3 separate regions of the Homo sapiens genome follow, and all the other regions are linked to region 3. The links are contacts of gene promoters, found by promoter capture Hi-C in human tissues and cell types (Jung and others, 2019). All regions are on one chromosome and are shown on one strand. Each heading gives the region's core, a stretch centred on a gene start or on the middle of the fragment in contact. The rest is flanking DNA. Distances are from core to core; before and after follow the strand shown.

What was found. Contacts are between HindIII fragments. The study calls those that stand out against the background at their distance.
Region 1: a fragment that was not itself captured here is called in contact with the fragment with the promoter of ANKRD62 in region 3 in 1 of the 25 tissues and cell types used here (adrenal gland).
Region 2: a contact is called between a fragment that was not itself captured here and the fragment with the promoter of ANKRD62 in region 3, in 2 of the 25 tissues and cell types used here (H1 embryonic stem cells and spleen).

Annotation. Positions count from the first base shown.
Region 1 is chr18:12,048,471-12,052,144 of GRCh38, forward strand. No RefSeq gene overlaps it. Among named protein-coding and RNA genes, the nearest start is that of ANKRD62, 44 kb to the right of the region's middle. RefSeq lists an enhancer at 2,091-2,280. The HindIII fragment of the contact is 3,055 bases long and covers 600-3,654 here.
Region 2 is chr18:12,155,284-12,159,287 of GRCh38, forward strand. It overlaps a transcript of ANKRD62 not described here. Among named protein-coding and RNA genes, the nearest start is that of C18orf61, 43 kb to the right of the region's middle. The HindIII fragment of the contact is 5,580 bases long and covers 1-4,004 here.
Region 3 is chr18:12,091,882-12,096,120 of GRCh38, forward strand. It overlaps ANKRD62 (ankyrin repeat domain 62), which reads left to right and starts at 1,962. Exons shown (of 14, transcript NM_001277333.2): 1 at 1,962-2,354; 2 at 3,290-3,404; 3 at 3,556-3,729. The coding sequence starts at 2,137. It also overlaps the pseudogene LOC100533852. The HindIII fragment of the contact is 7,146 bases long and covers 1-4,239 here.

The DNA.
Region 1 (3,674 bases), core at 877-3,376, 43 kb before region 3:
ACTCCCCGTAGCATGCAGGCAGCGCAGCCCCAGATAGCACACCTAAAGTAGTGACGCCCAGAATAACACCCCCAACCAGCAGCCCCGGATAGCGCACATACCCTGTTGCCCTTCTACGCTCTGGCTGGCTGCAGTCTCAGTCTTTGCCACCAACCACAGCGAGGTGAGCAGTGGTGCCGCAGGCTCCAGCCTCCAGCTTCCAGCCTCCAGCCTGTGGCAAGTGACTCCTCCTTCTTCCCTTCCTGTAGCCAGGCATGGAGCAGCTCTCACTGCCAGCTGCCTCCTACCGTTCCATCCACTCTGCAGTCTCCATCTAGGTTCCTGGCATGGCAGTAAGAGTTCTACTAATGGCCAACTCAGTACTTCTAGCTCTCCCTGCCTCCCTGCCGGACCTGCACATGCCTGAGGCCTGCCAGTGACACTGGGACTTGATGGGACTCAGGGGGGTTAAAGTGTAAGGGAAGAGAAAGAGATGCTTATAGCAATGAAATAAGCAAAGGAAAAATAGACATGAGTAATTTTCCCATGATGATTACTCAGCAAACCCACATAAACTCTTTTCATTTTTCTCAACCACGAATCCTTAGTCCTCCCTCTATGGGGTGCTCACATCAGATTCTACCCAGGTAAGCACAGAGCTTTCTGTGTCTGGAAGTGAAAGTGCCAAGCCTTGCCAGGGTCACCCAAAGGGGAGCAGGGGTTGATGGCTCCAGGACTTCAGAGGCCACCCTTCCAAACTGCCTCATTTTAAACAGAAAACTGAGGCTGAAAGAAGGAAGCAAATTGCCAACATCTTCTAGAGCTACCAATCCCAGAGAAAGATGAAAGAAACCTGGCAAAGTAAATTAGAGTTCCCAAATCACCACAAGTGTAAAAGTCAACAGGCAGGCACCAAAACTAATAATATCTTCACACAGAACTTGAAATGCAACTCTCTCTTTGATTACCAGGAAACCCCAGCTCAGGGTTCTAAATCTATCATGTACCCTTTGACATTTTTTTTCCTCCATTAACACTCACTTTATCCAAATATGCCCCCTCAGAGATGGAGTCCAAAGCTGGTTTCTGGAAGGAGACAGAGAGAGACCCCTCTGGTCCCGTGTCATAAGCCTGTGGGGCAGGTCAAGACTGCCTCTTGCCATGGCCCTTCTCTCTCTTTGGTAAACAGCAGCCTGCTCCACTTGGGAGCACACCCAATATGGCATGACTGGGATCCCACATGACTGAGGGTCCAGGATGGACATATAAGAGATTTTAAAGAAAAGTTTATCCTCCTCACCTTTTCCCTCTGCCTAGTAACAATACAATCTACACACTAGCTCCTCTAGAAAAGTCTGCACAGTGAGAACTGACTATGTGCTCCCAGCATTTAGAGACTTGCTGTAAAGCCAACCCAGGAATATCAGGGCATTTCACTGCAGATGGTCAGTTGACCAACCCCCTTTGGAAGCTATTCAACAGGTGTGACCATGGCACAATGACCTGGAAACAGGCATCTCTCACCCTTCCTCTGTTAAAAAACCTGAAATCCTGAAAAGGCAGAGCAGATACAATATTTTTACCTTTTCATTTCCATCCTAAACTTTCACCACTCCAAAAAATCTAAAATGATCTTTCATAGAATAACTCCACTTAAATGCCCTCAGAACTTTAGCTGCTATATGCGTTGGTTTGGAATGCAGTTTGAAGTATTTGAGGTTGTTCTAATTCTGCAAAATGAAAAGGGAAGCTAGGCAAATACTGAAACTTGCAACCACAATATCTCATTACTTTGCTGAATAAATTGTATAAATTTAAAATAGAAAAGTCACAGCACTCCCTGCCTAGGCCAAGTAACTATTGGTAGTGCTCACAAGCCTGCAGGGCTTGGAGGATCTCCTGATCCCAGGCAGTACCTTCAAGTCCCAAATGTTGTGGAAGTGCAAAGGATCTCCCAGGCACGCTATTAGCCTTTGCCTTTGGAGCTCCACAGCCACTATCTTATTGGAGTAGCTGTAGTTGCAGATCTCAGTTCCCTTTTTCAAGTGGCAAACCTTTAGCTTCCTCTGAGCTTTGAGGTTCAAAATGGCCACTAAGGTGCTTGACAACAATTTTCTATAATGCACGCATCTTCGGTATCAGTGCAATTCAGGGATCTGTTCCAGCTTATCCACAGAAGAAGGGAGAAAAATTTATAACTGGACTTACTACCCACAGCTAGGGATGTGTCCTTGTTGGAGTTGGCCCAGCTGGCACCGGCCTCTGATCTGGCTCCCCCGGTTCACAGCTGGGTGCACAGGGGTTGCGATGTGCTCAGGGTGTGCGCCAGTCCCACTTTCTGCCTCGGTGGCTGCCACTACCTCTCTGGGATCAGCCACAACCTTGTCCCGTCCCTCCTTGTTTTTCTAGTTTCTTGAAGTAGAAAGTTAATTATCGTTTTGAGGCCTTTCCTCTTTTCTGAGGTTAACATTTAGTGCTGTTAATTTCCCTATCAGCAGGGCTTTATTCAATTCCATGAATTTCTAAAATTTATTTTGAGGCTTTTTCTTTGATCCAAATATTATTTAGAAGTCTGTTGTTTCATTTCCAAGTGGTTGGATATTTTGCTGTTGTCTTTCTACTATGAATTAATTCATAGTTTGATTCATTTCATTATGGCCAGAAAACACACTCGGAATGATTTCAGTTCTTTTATACCTGCTGAGGTTGGTTTATGGCCCAGGATATGGTTTATCTTCCTGAATAGTCCATGAGCACTTGAGAAAAAGTGTATATTTTGCTGTTGGGCACTGTTCCGTAAATGTTGCTTCTACCCTATTGGTTGATGGTGCTCTCCTGTTCTATGTCTGCTAGTAATTTAACGCCTAGTGATTCTACCAACTGCTGAGAGTGAGGTGGTCAGACTTACAACTAGAATTTAAAATGTGCCTATTTCTCCTTTCAGCTCAGTCAGTTTTATTTTGTGTACTTTGAGGTTCTTTTGTTTGGTGGGGACATATTTAGGATAACTGCATTTTTGTTGGATTGATACTTTTATCGTTATATAGTGATCTTTTTGCCCACGAGTTTTCTTTGCTCTAGAGTCGACTTTATGTGATATCAATGGGGCCACTCTTACTTTGATTTGAATAATGTTTGTATGGTATATCTTTTTCTATTCTTTATCAACTCATGTTGTTAACTATGTTATGAATTTCCTATAAATATTTTAGAATTATGTTTCTTGTTCTTTCCACTCTGTCAATTTGTATTTTGATACACATTGATTATTTACATTTAAGATAAATATTGCTATGTTAGGCTGCTATTTTATTTGTTTTGTTTTCTCGGTTTTTCATTCATCTATTACCATTTTCTTATTTTCCTGTTGGTTATATCAACATTTTTTAGATTCCATCTTGTTTATTTGCAGTGTTTCTAAGCACAATACTCTTTATCGTTTTCTTAGCAGTTCTAGATATTAAAGTGTGCATATGTAACTTATCACAGTCTATTAGTCAGCATTTTACCACTTCAAGTGAAATGTAGAAAGCTTCATTCTACTTAGATCCCTTTACCCTCCCCCCTTTTAAATAGAATTAAGTATTTCCTCTACATACAGAGCATTTTTCTCCAAACATCAAATATGATGTCAGAAACTCATGAGAAACAGATTCTATTACATTTCCCCCTATTTCTGCCAACCTCCAATGTTC
Region 2 (4,004 bases), core at 490-2,989, 63 kb after region 3:
GAGTAAATGTGAGTCTCCACATCCTTTTCCTTTAAATAGTGGCTAAATCACTGGGGACTTGCATGGTGCCAGGAACTTGCAGGAGGCCACATCTTGGCTTTATTGCCTGGTTCTCAATCCCAAGCCTACATAGTTTATTGTGAAAGATTCCTTCTTCCTGTTTCCATTGACTTTTTTATTTTCTGACTCCTGTGGTTCTAGACTGCCATGGAGCACACATGAAGTTCCTGTGGACACGGGCTTCCTTGTCCCCATGGGCCACTACTGTTGAGGCTGTCAATGACCTATCTGCCTGGGCTTGGGGGATCTGAGCCAGGCCTAGGTGTACAAAGTTCCCCTTTCTTTATTCTCTTTATTCCTTTCCTCTCTTAATCTCAATGATAATCTCTTAGAGCCATTTTCTTTATAATGATTTCCCCACAAGGAGCTCCTAGTATATTCTACCTAATGTCTTTAGGTGTTAGGAAATACCAAAGCAGAACCTAGCTGGCCACTTCCATTTTCTACACTGTCATCCCTCCTAAGACTGAACCCTGGAAAGGGTACTTCCTTCAGATAGACATTGGGGAGATAGAAAGGGGGAAATAGTGGGAGGAAGAAAAAGTCAGTTGGTGATATGGCTTAGGTATTTGTCCCCTTTAAATTTCATGATGAAATGTGATCGCCAGTGTTGGAGATTTGCCTTTCTGTGGTAATGAGTGAGTTCTCACTCTGTTAGTTCAGGCCAGAGCTGATTGTTTAAAGGAGCCTGATACTACCTTCTCTCTCTCTCTCTTTCTCTCTCTCTCTCTCCTTCCCCCCTCCCTCTCCCTCCCTTTCTCTCCTTCCCTCCTCTCTCACCATGTGACACACCCGCCTGCTCCCCCTTTGCCTTCCACCATAATTGGAAGCTTCCTGAGGCCTGACTAGAAGCAGATGTTGGTGCCACGCCTCCGGTGCAGTTTGCAGAACCATAAACCAAATACATTTCTTTTCTTTATAAATTACCCAATCTCAGGTATTTTTCTGTAGCAACATGAGAAGAACTAACACAATAGGTATTTCAAAAATATTCTCCAACTCCATAATCCATTAGACCTCTCCCTGTCAAAAGGAGTATCCCACATGTCATGGACTGGTAGATCCTCATATTCTTCATGGTTTTGTTTCTGCTTGCTTGCTTCTGTGAAATCTGTTTTTTAATCTATGGATTAGATCCACTACTGAGTCAGGACGTTGATTTAGTGGGTAAAGAACAGTATTTTTAAAAAGGAATATACTAGAATAGAATAGGAAAACTTATAGAGCATCACATAATATAAGTCTAGATATTACTTTGAAGCTTGCATTTTATACACATCTGTGTGTGTTCTAAGCTGTGAGGAGATGCATCTCTTACTGTTGGCTCTAATCAAAGTTTTAAAAACACCATTTTAGGGCATTTTTAGCTGTCACTGAATTTGCTATACCATTTAGTTCTCTCTTGAATATTTTTGTTTTCATAAAAAATATCCTATATTAATTTTTAAAAACATGGTGTACGTGGGTTGTAACTTTGAGTCATTGCTTGATTGAAAATGTCACATTTTTGTCTTCATAGGGTAGAAAAGTATTTTCCCTCTAAATTTTAAAGGCATAGTTTTGCTGATAAGATATATGATAACTTCCTCTCTCACTCTCTCGCTCTCTCTCGCTCGCTGTCTCTCATTTTTTTAAGAGACAGCATCTCACTATGTTGCCCAGGCAAGCAATCTGCTTGCCTCGGCCCCGCAAAGTGCTGAGATTAAAGGCAAGAGCCACTGTGCCCAGCCCAAGATAACTTTATAGGCAAACTTTTTTCTCCCTCTCCAGAAGCTTTCTGAAGTTCTACTTTGGGATGCTGAAATCTGTCTAGGGTATGTCTGATAAAGATATTTTGCTTGTTCTGCTGGGCACTTATTTCAACAAGCATTTTTAAAAATCACTTTTCAGACTTTTTATACAGTAAAATTTATTCTTTCTAGAATATGGTTCTATGGGTTTTGATAAACACCTGTAGTCAAGTAACCACGACCATGATCAAAATGTAGAACATTTCATCACTCAGAGTGACCCCTTTGTGATGAACCAGGCCCTATCCTCGCCCCTGGCCCATGTAAATTACTAATTTCAACAGATTTTATTTTTACTTCTTCAGTAGGTCTTTGATTATTTTTGATTTCCATTTTTTGCCTTGCCAATTTTGTTCTTTGGTGAACTAGACTGTGTTGTAATATTTAACATAATATGATGTAATATCCTTTGAATGTTTTCTGTTCATGAATTATCTGTTTGAAGGTTTCTCATCCGTGAATTATCTGTTTCTCCTAGGGCTAGTGTGTTCGCTTGTGCTCAGATTCTGCCTCGCTTTCTATTTACATCTTTGTCCTTTCCTTTCTTGCTGTTGGATTTCCTTAAATGACTGGGTGGTCATTGGCTGTCTGTTCATTTTTATGGACAAGGAGGAGGCTGAATAGTATAGGTGGCCAAATGGGTTTCCACTGCAGCTGGAAAGGTCTGATTCCTGAGCAGGTCTTAAAGGTCTTGGCTGGGATGGGCAACTATGGGCTTCTACAAGTGCTGCCAGTGGCCAGGGATGTCAACAGACCAGCTTCCCTGTGGTGCGTAGGTGGGAGTGGCTAGGGTGAACCCCTTATGTTCTTGGAACAAACAAACAAAAGCAGGGAGGCTGTATTTTGGGGTCATGAGCTTTAGAACATCTTACCCTTGGGTAGTGTTGGCTCCCCCTTCCAGCGTCAGGTTTGGAGATCCACAAGTCACCTCCAGGCCTGCCTTCCTCATCTCAGGCCACAAGACAAGGTGTGTCCCCACAATAGGCAGGTGGCTCACTCTATTCAGAGACAGGCCTAGGTCTATGCTGGGGTATAAATACCTCTCCTGCCAGAGGAACGTGCTTTGTTTAGAGGTAGTAAATGAGAAGGCAAGGGACCTGAGTAGCCAGCTGATGCTGATCACACCTCTTTGAATAGCCTGGTCATTGTGGCTTTGGTGACATTTCCAGAGTCCCCTTCTGTCTGGTATTTTTGGCTGTTGTGTTCTTTCATCATTGTGTTTCTGTCTGTTAACTATCAGCTAAGGTATCTTCCTTTTGTCTCTACCATCAATGCTTTTATTATTTTAAACAATCTCTTCCTCTGTATGTGCAACCTGAAAAGATATTGCAAATAGGATTACTTTTGCAAATTGTTAATACCCTACAAAATTGCTTTAGAAATTTTTTATTTTTATTTTTTATTTTTTTTGAGACGGAGTCTCGCTGTGTCGCCCTGGCTGGAGTGCAGTGGTGCCATCTCGGCTCACCGCAAGCTCTGCCTCCCGGGTTCACGCCATTCTCCTGCCTCAGCCTCCCGTAGCTGGGATCACAGGCGCCCACCATCATGCCTGGCTAATTTTTTTTTTTTTTTTTGTATTTTTAGTAGAGATGGGGTTTCACCGTGTTAGCCAGCGTGGTCTCGATCTCCTGACCTCGTGATCCACCGGCCTTGGCCTCCCAAAGTGCTGGGATTACAGGCGTGAGCCACCGCGCCCGGCCAGAAATTTTTTATTTAACACACATTTAAAAATATTTCAGCTGGGCTTCGAGTGGGAGGTGCTTCGTTTGCCATTTGAGTTGGAAGTGAATATATATGATTTTAAAGGTAATAAGTGTATTTCTTTTAAAATATGGGGCCTAGTTCAGACCTTCCACAAAATTCTTCCTATGCTATTAACCTGTGATGGAAAAAGTTTAAAGCTGGACATCTTTCTCCTCATGCAAGACACTGAACACAGCAGAAGTATAACGACCTATTGAGTTTAATTTAATTATATAATAAATGACCAGGAAAACGTGTATTTAAAGAAGAGTGCATATATTTTGTAGTTAGACCCTGCTTTGAGGTATCTAGGGAAGAAAAGTGATTTGAGTTGCTTGGAAGAGGTGAGGAGAATAGTCAGGGACACAGTAGTTGGCATTGTTCATGATATTTAGTTCATTTTCTTTAACA
Region 3 (4,239 bases), core at 712-3,211:
TGCCAAGTCCTCGCCAGCCAGCTCATAGCTGTGCAGGAGGCTGTCACTGGGCGAGGCCGTCTGTTGGTACATGTCCACCAGGCTGCGCAGCCCCAGCCGCTCTGCCAGCTCTGCCCAGCTGCCCTGGGCTTCTGGCCCATCTAGCAGCTGCTCCAGGTTCTGCAGGGCTGTGTCACCAAGTGACAGCCCTGGCCCTGCAGGGCTGGGTGGGGTCAGGGGCAGCTAGCTCCATGGTGTTCAGAGTGGCATTTAGCAGCAAGGTCTTCACCTTGGTGCTGTGGATAAGGTCGAGGCGTGTGGCCCTGGAAGCTGCTTTGGGTGTCCTTCTCAGGCCCCTCTGAGTCCCAGTCGTTATCAGAGGTAGGGGGTGAGGGCAGTGGGCACAGGGGCTCCTCATTCTCAGCATAGATGTCAGCACTAGCCTTCAGAAGGAGGGTGAGGGTTGGGGACTCCAGTCCAGCTGCCAGGTGCAGGGGTGTGTTTCCCACAAAGGTGTGAGCATTCCCATTGGCCCGAAGCTTGGTGACCAGATGGGTGACCAACCCCAGCTCCTCCATCTCTGTGGCTAGATGCAAGGCTGTTTGGCCCCCTGCTACTCTGTGGCCTCCACTTCAGCCCCACTGTCCACCAGCAGATCCAGGCACTTGGGGCTTTGGGCTTGGGCCGCCAGGTGTACTGCAAAGTCAGGCATGTGCAACAGCCGAGGCACAGCGGGAGCTCCACTCCAAAGCAGTGCATGCAGCAGCTCAGAGGCACCAGGGCCTGCCTGCAGTGCCAGGTGCATGGCTGAGTCTCCATGCCAATCAGCAGTGCTGGGTCTGCATCCACCTGAAGCAGAAAGCTCACCACCCTCATCTGCCTGGTGATCACTGCCAGGTGCAGGGGTGTCTGGTGCAGGTGGTTGGTGAGGTTGACGATGCCAAGGTGCTGGGTGTGGTAGATGACATGGGCTATGTGCTTGATGACCCTGGTCGGCCCATGGATGATGGACAGGTATAGTGGCGTGTCTCTGTTCTCGTCCTGCTCCAGCAGGTGGCATTGTCCCGCCAGCAGTGTGCTGGCGTCCGTGGTGACACCATAGTTGAGTAGGGCCTGGGCGCTGCGCTGTGCCGTGCCACACCAGGCTGAAGAGCGTTGTACTCTCGGGCTCACTGCAGCATCTCCAGGGCCTGCAGCTGGCACTGGGGAGGGGTCCTGGAGGGGGCTAGGGCTATGGCCGTGCGGGGCCAAGGCTAGGGCTAGGGCCAGGTCTGCACTAGGGCCAGTGTGAGGGCCAAAGCAGGATCAGGGCAGAGCCAAAGGCAGGGCAGGGCAGGGCAGGGTAGAACAGGCCCAGGGTAGCACAGGGCAAAGTTAGGGCAGAACCAACCAAGGCAGATCTATGGCTCTGCGGCTTCCTCCTGAGTCCCTGCCGGGCACTAAAAGCCTGGCTCTTTTTTTTTTTTTTTCCAGACGGAGTCTCGCTTTGTCACCCAGGCTGGAGTGCAGTGGCGTGATCTCGGTTCCCTGCAAGCTCCGCCTCCCAGGTTCACGCCATTCTCCTGCCTCAGCCTCCCAAGTAGCTGGGACTACAGGCGCCCGGCACCACGACCGGCTAATTTTTTGTATTTTTAGTAGAGACGGGGTTTCACCGTGTTAGCCAGGATGGTCTCGATCTTTTGACCTCGTGATCCGCCTGCCTCGGCCTCCCAAAGTGCTGGAATCACAGGCGTGAGCCAGCCAGCAGGCGGCGCTCGCGAGAGTGCGCAGCTCCCGCGAAGGGCCTCGCGGGCAGGCTGAGGTGCGCATGTGCCCTGGTGCCTAAGGGTTCTGGCCGGGGAGGCGGGGGGCGGTGGGAGGTGGGGGGAGGGCGGGTGCGCCACCACGTGGCGCCCGCGAATGGAGGGCGCGAGGCTCAGGGCTGTTTCTCCGCGGATGGCCTCGTGGGCCGGCTGAGGTGCACATGCGCGCTGGTGCCTAACGGCTCTGCTGGGCTAGGTGCTCCTCCGAGCAGCTGGAGACTGGAGTGTCCCTGACGGAGGTTGCGGCTGGACCTGGTTACGTGCTGGTGCTGCGCTCCAGAGAGGCAGAAAACGAGTGGGAGCTGAGGTGTCTTAAAGCCGTTCCTCAGCCTGGGAGAAGATCTCTGGCTTCAGGATGGAGGTCAGGGGGTCGTTCCTGGCGGCCTGCAGGAGACGCATGGCTACCTGGAGGAAGAATCGTGACAAGGATGGCTTCTCAAATCCCGGGTACCGAGTCCGGCAGAAGGATCTGGGCATGATCCACAAAGCTGCCATCGCAGGTGATGTGAACAAGGTGATGGAGAGCATCTTGCTCAGGCTGAATGACTTGAACGACAGGGACAAGAAGAACAGGTAAGGGGAACAGGAAGCCGGGAGGAGGCCTGGGGATATGGGAGAAGCCCCTGTTCCTGGTTTCGGGGTAGGGGAGATACGGTGTGGGGTGAAGGCGTGGGTGGGGTGGAAGTCAGGTGAGGGTGGGTGGGGTGGGGGACTGTGGTGGGGAGTGGCTGGGGGGCGTTGGATGTGATGGGGGACTGTGGTGGGGGTAGAGTTGGGTGGGGGACTGTGGTAGGAAGTGGAGTTGGGTGGGGGTTGGAAGGGGTGGAGGACTGTGGTGGGGGGTGGGATGGGTTGGGGGACTGGTGGGGAGTGGCTGGGGGGCGTTGGATGTGATGGGGGACTGTGGTGGGGGTAGAGTTGGGTGAGGGACTGTGGTGGGGAGTGGAGTGAGGGTGGGTTGGGGTGGAGGACTGGTGGGGGGTGGGATGGGGTGGGGGACTGTGGTGGGGAGTGGCTGGGGGCGTTGGATGTTGGGGGGACTGTGGTGGGGGTAGAGTTGGGTGGGAGACTGGTGGGAAGTGGAGTTGGGTGGGGGTTGGATGGAGTGCAGGACTGGTGTGGGGGTGGGTGGGGTTGGGGACTGTGGTGGGGGGTAGAGTTGGGTGAGGGACTGTGGTGGGGAGTCGAGTGGAGTGAGGGTTGGCTGGGGTGGGGGTTGGATGGAGTGAGGGGACTGGTTGGGGGTAGAGTTGGGTAGGATGTGGGTACGATGCAAGGGTGGGGGTGGGGGTGGGGTGAGTGTTGTCACCAAGGGCACTGGGCTTTCTACCCTGGCAGCCTCAGCAGCACCTGGGATGTGGAAACCTTGCCTTTCTTCACAAGAAAAGTAACTATTTGTTCTGAAGGCAGAGGGATAACATACTATTGGATGTTTACAATTGCATGCGTCGTTGTATGTTTTGGGACTGTGCACTACAATTGCCTAAAGCGACCTCTCATTCTCACAGGACTGCTCTACTTTTGGCGTGTGCCCATGGCCGTCCAGGAGTGGTAGCTGACCTGGTGGCCAGAAAATGCCAGCTTAACCTCACTGACAGTGAAAACAGGACAGCTCTGATCAAGGTATATGGTAGCCAACTCTTTCAGCATGGGATGGATTTAATTTAAATTCACAGAATAAAATTAATTCACCTCATTGAAATGTGACTAGTTGGTGAATCCTGTGGAAGATTTCCTAGAATTTACAGTCTATTTCTTGGTCTAATACTGACAGGCTGTACAATGTCAAGAAGAAGTTTGTGCATCCATCCTGCTGGAACATGGCGCCAACCCAAATGTTAGAGATATGTATGGCAACACTGCTCTGCACTATGCCATTGATAATGAGAATATATCAATGGCAAGAAAACTGCTTGCATATGGTGCAGATATTGAAGCAAGAAGCCAGGTATGATCAACCAATGTTCTTTTCAAAGTATTTCAAGTATATTTGTTTTACCATTGACATATGATTTTTTTTAGTAAAACATCTGAAACTAGAAGGAAATATATTACGTGCAAATATTTGCTTTACATACAACTATTTAAAAATACATTCATAACAAATATGAAAACACGAGGTCTGTAGTCTAAATGTGTCCCATAGATTTAGGTTAGTTTACCTCCATAAGCTGTGTCAACATGTAAAATTTAGGAAACTCATACACATGTCTAGATTTCAGGCTTCTCTTAAAGGATCACATCTGGATTCCCTTGAGCTCATATCACTGTTGAGTATGCTGTGCAGCGGTTATCCCTTTATGTGAGGCATATGTGCTCCAGTCTGCTACTGTGCCTTCCAGACACCCTAGGAGGGGTATCTGAAAGGGAAGGAGCAACATGTGGGCAAGCACAGTGGAGTGAGAAGGAAGGGATTGCTTTTTATTTACTTTCTGCTTCATGTTTAAGTTCATAGGAT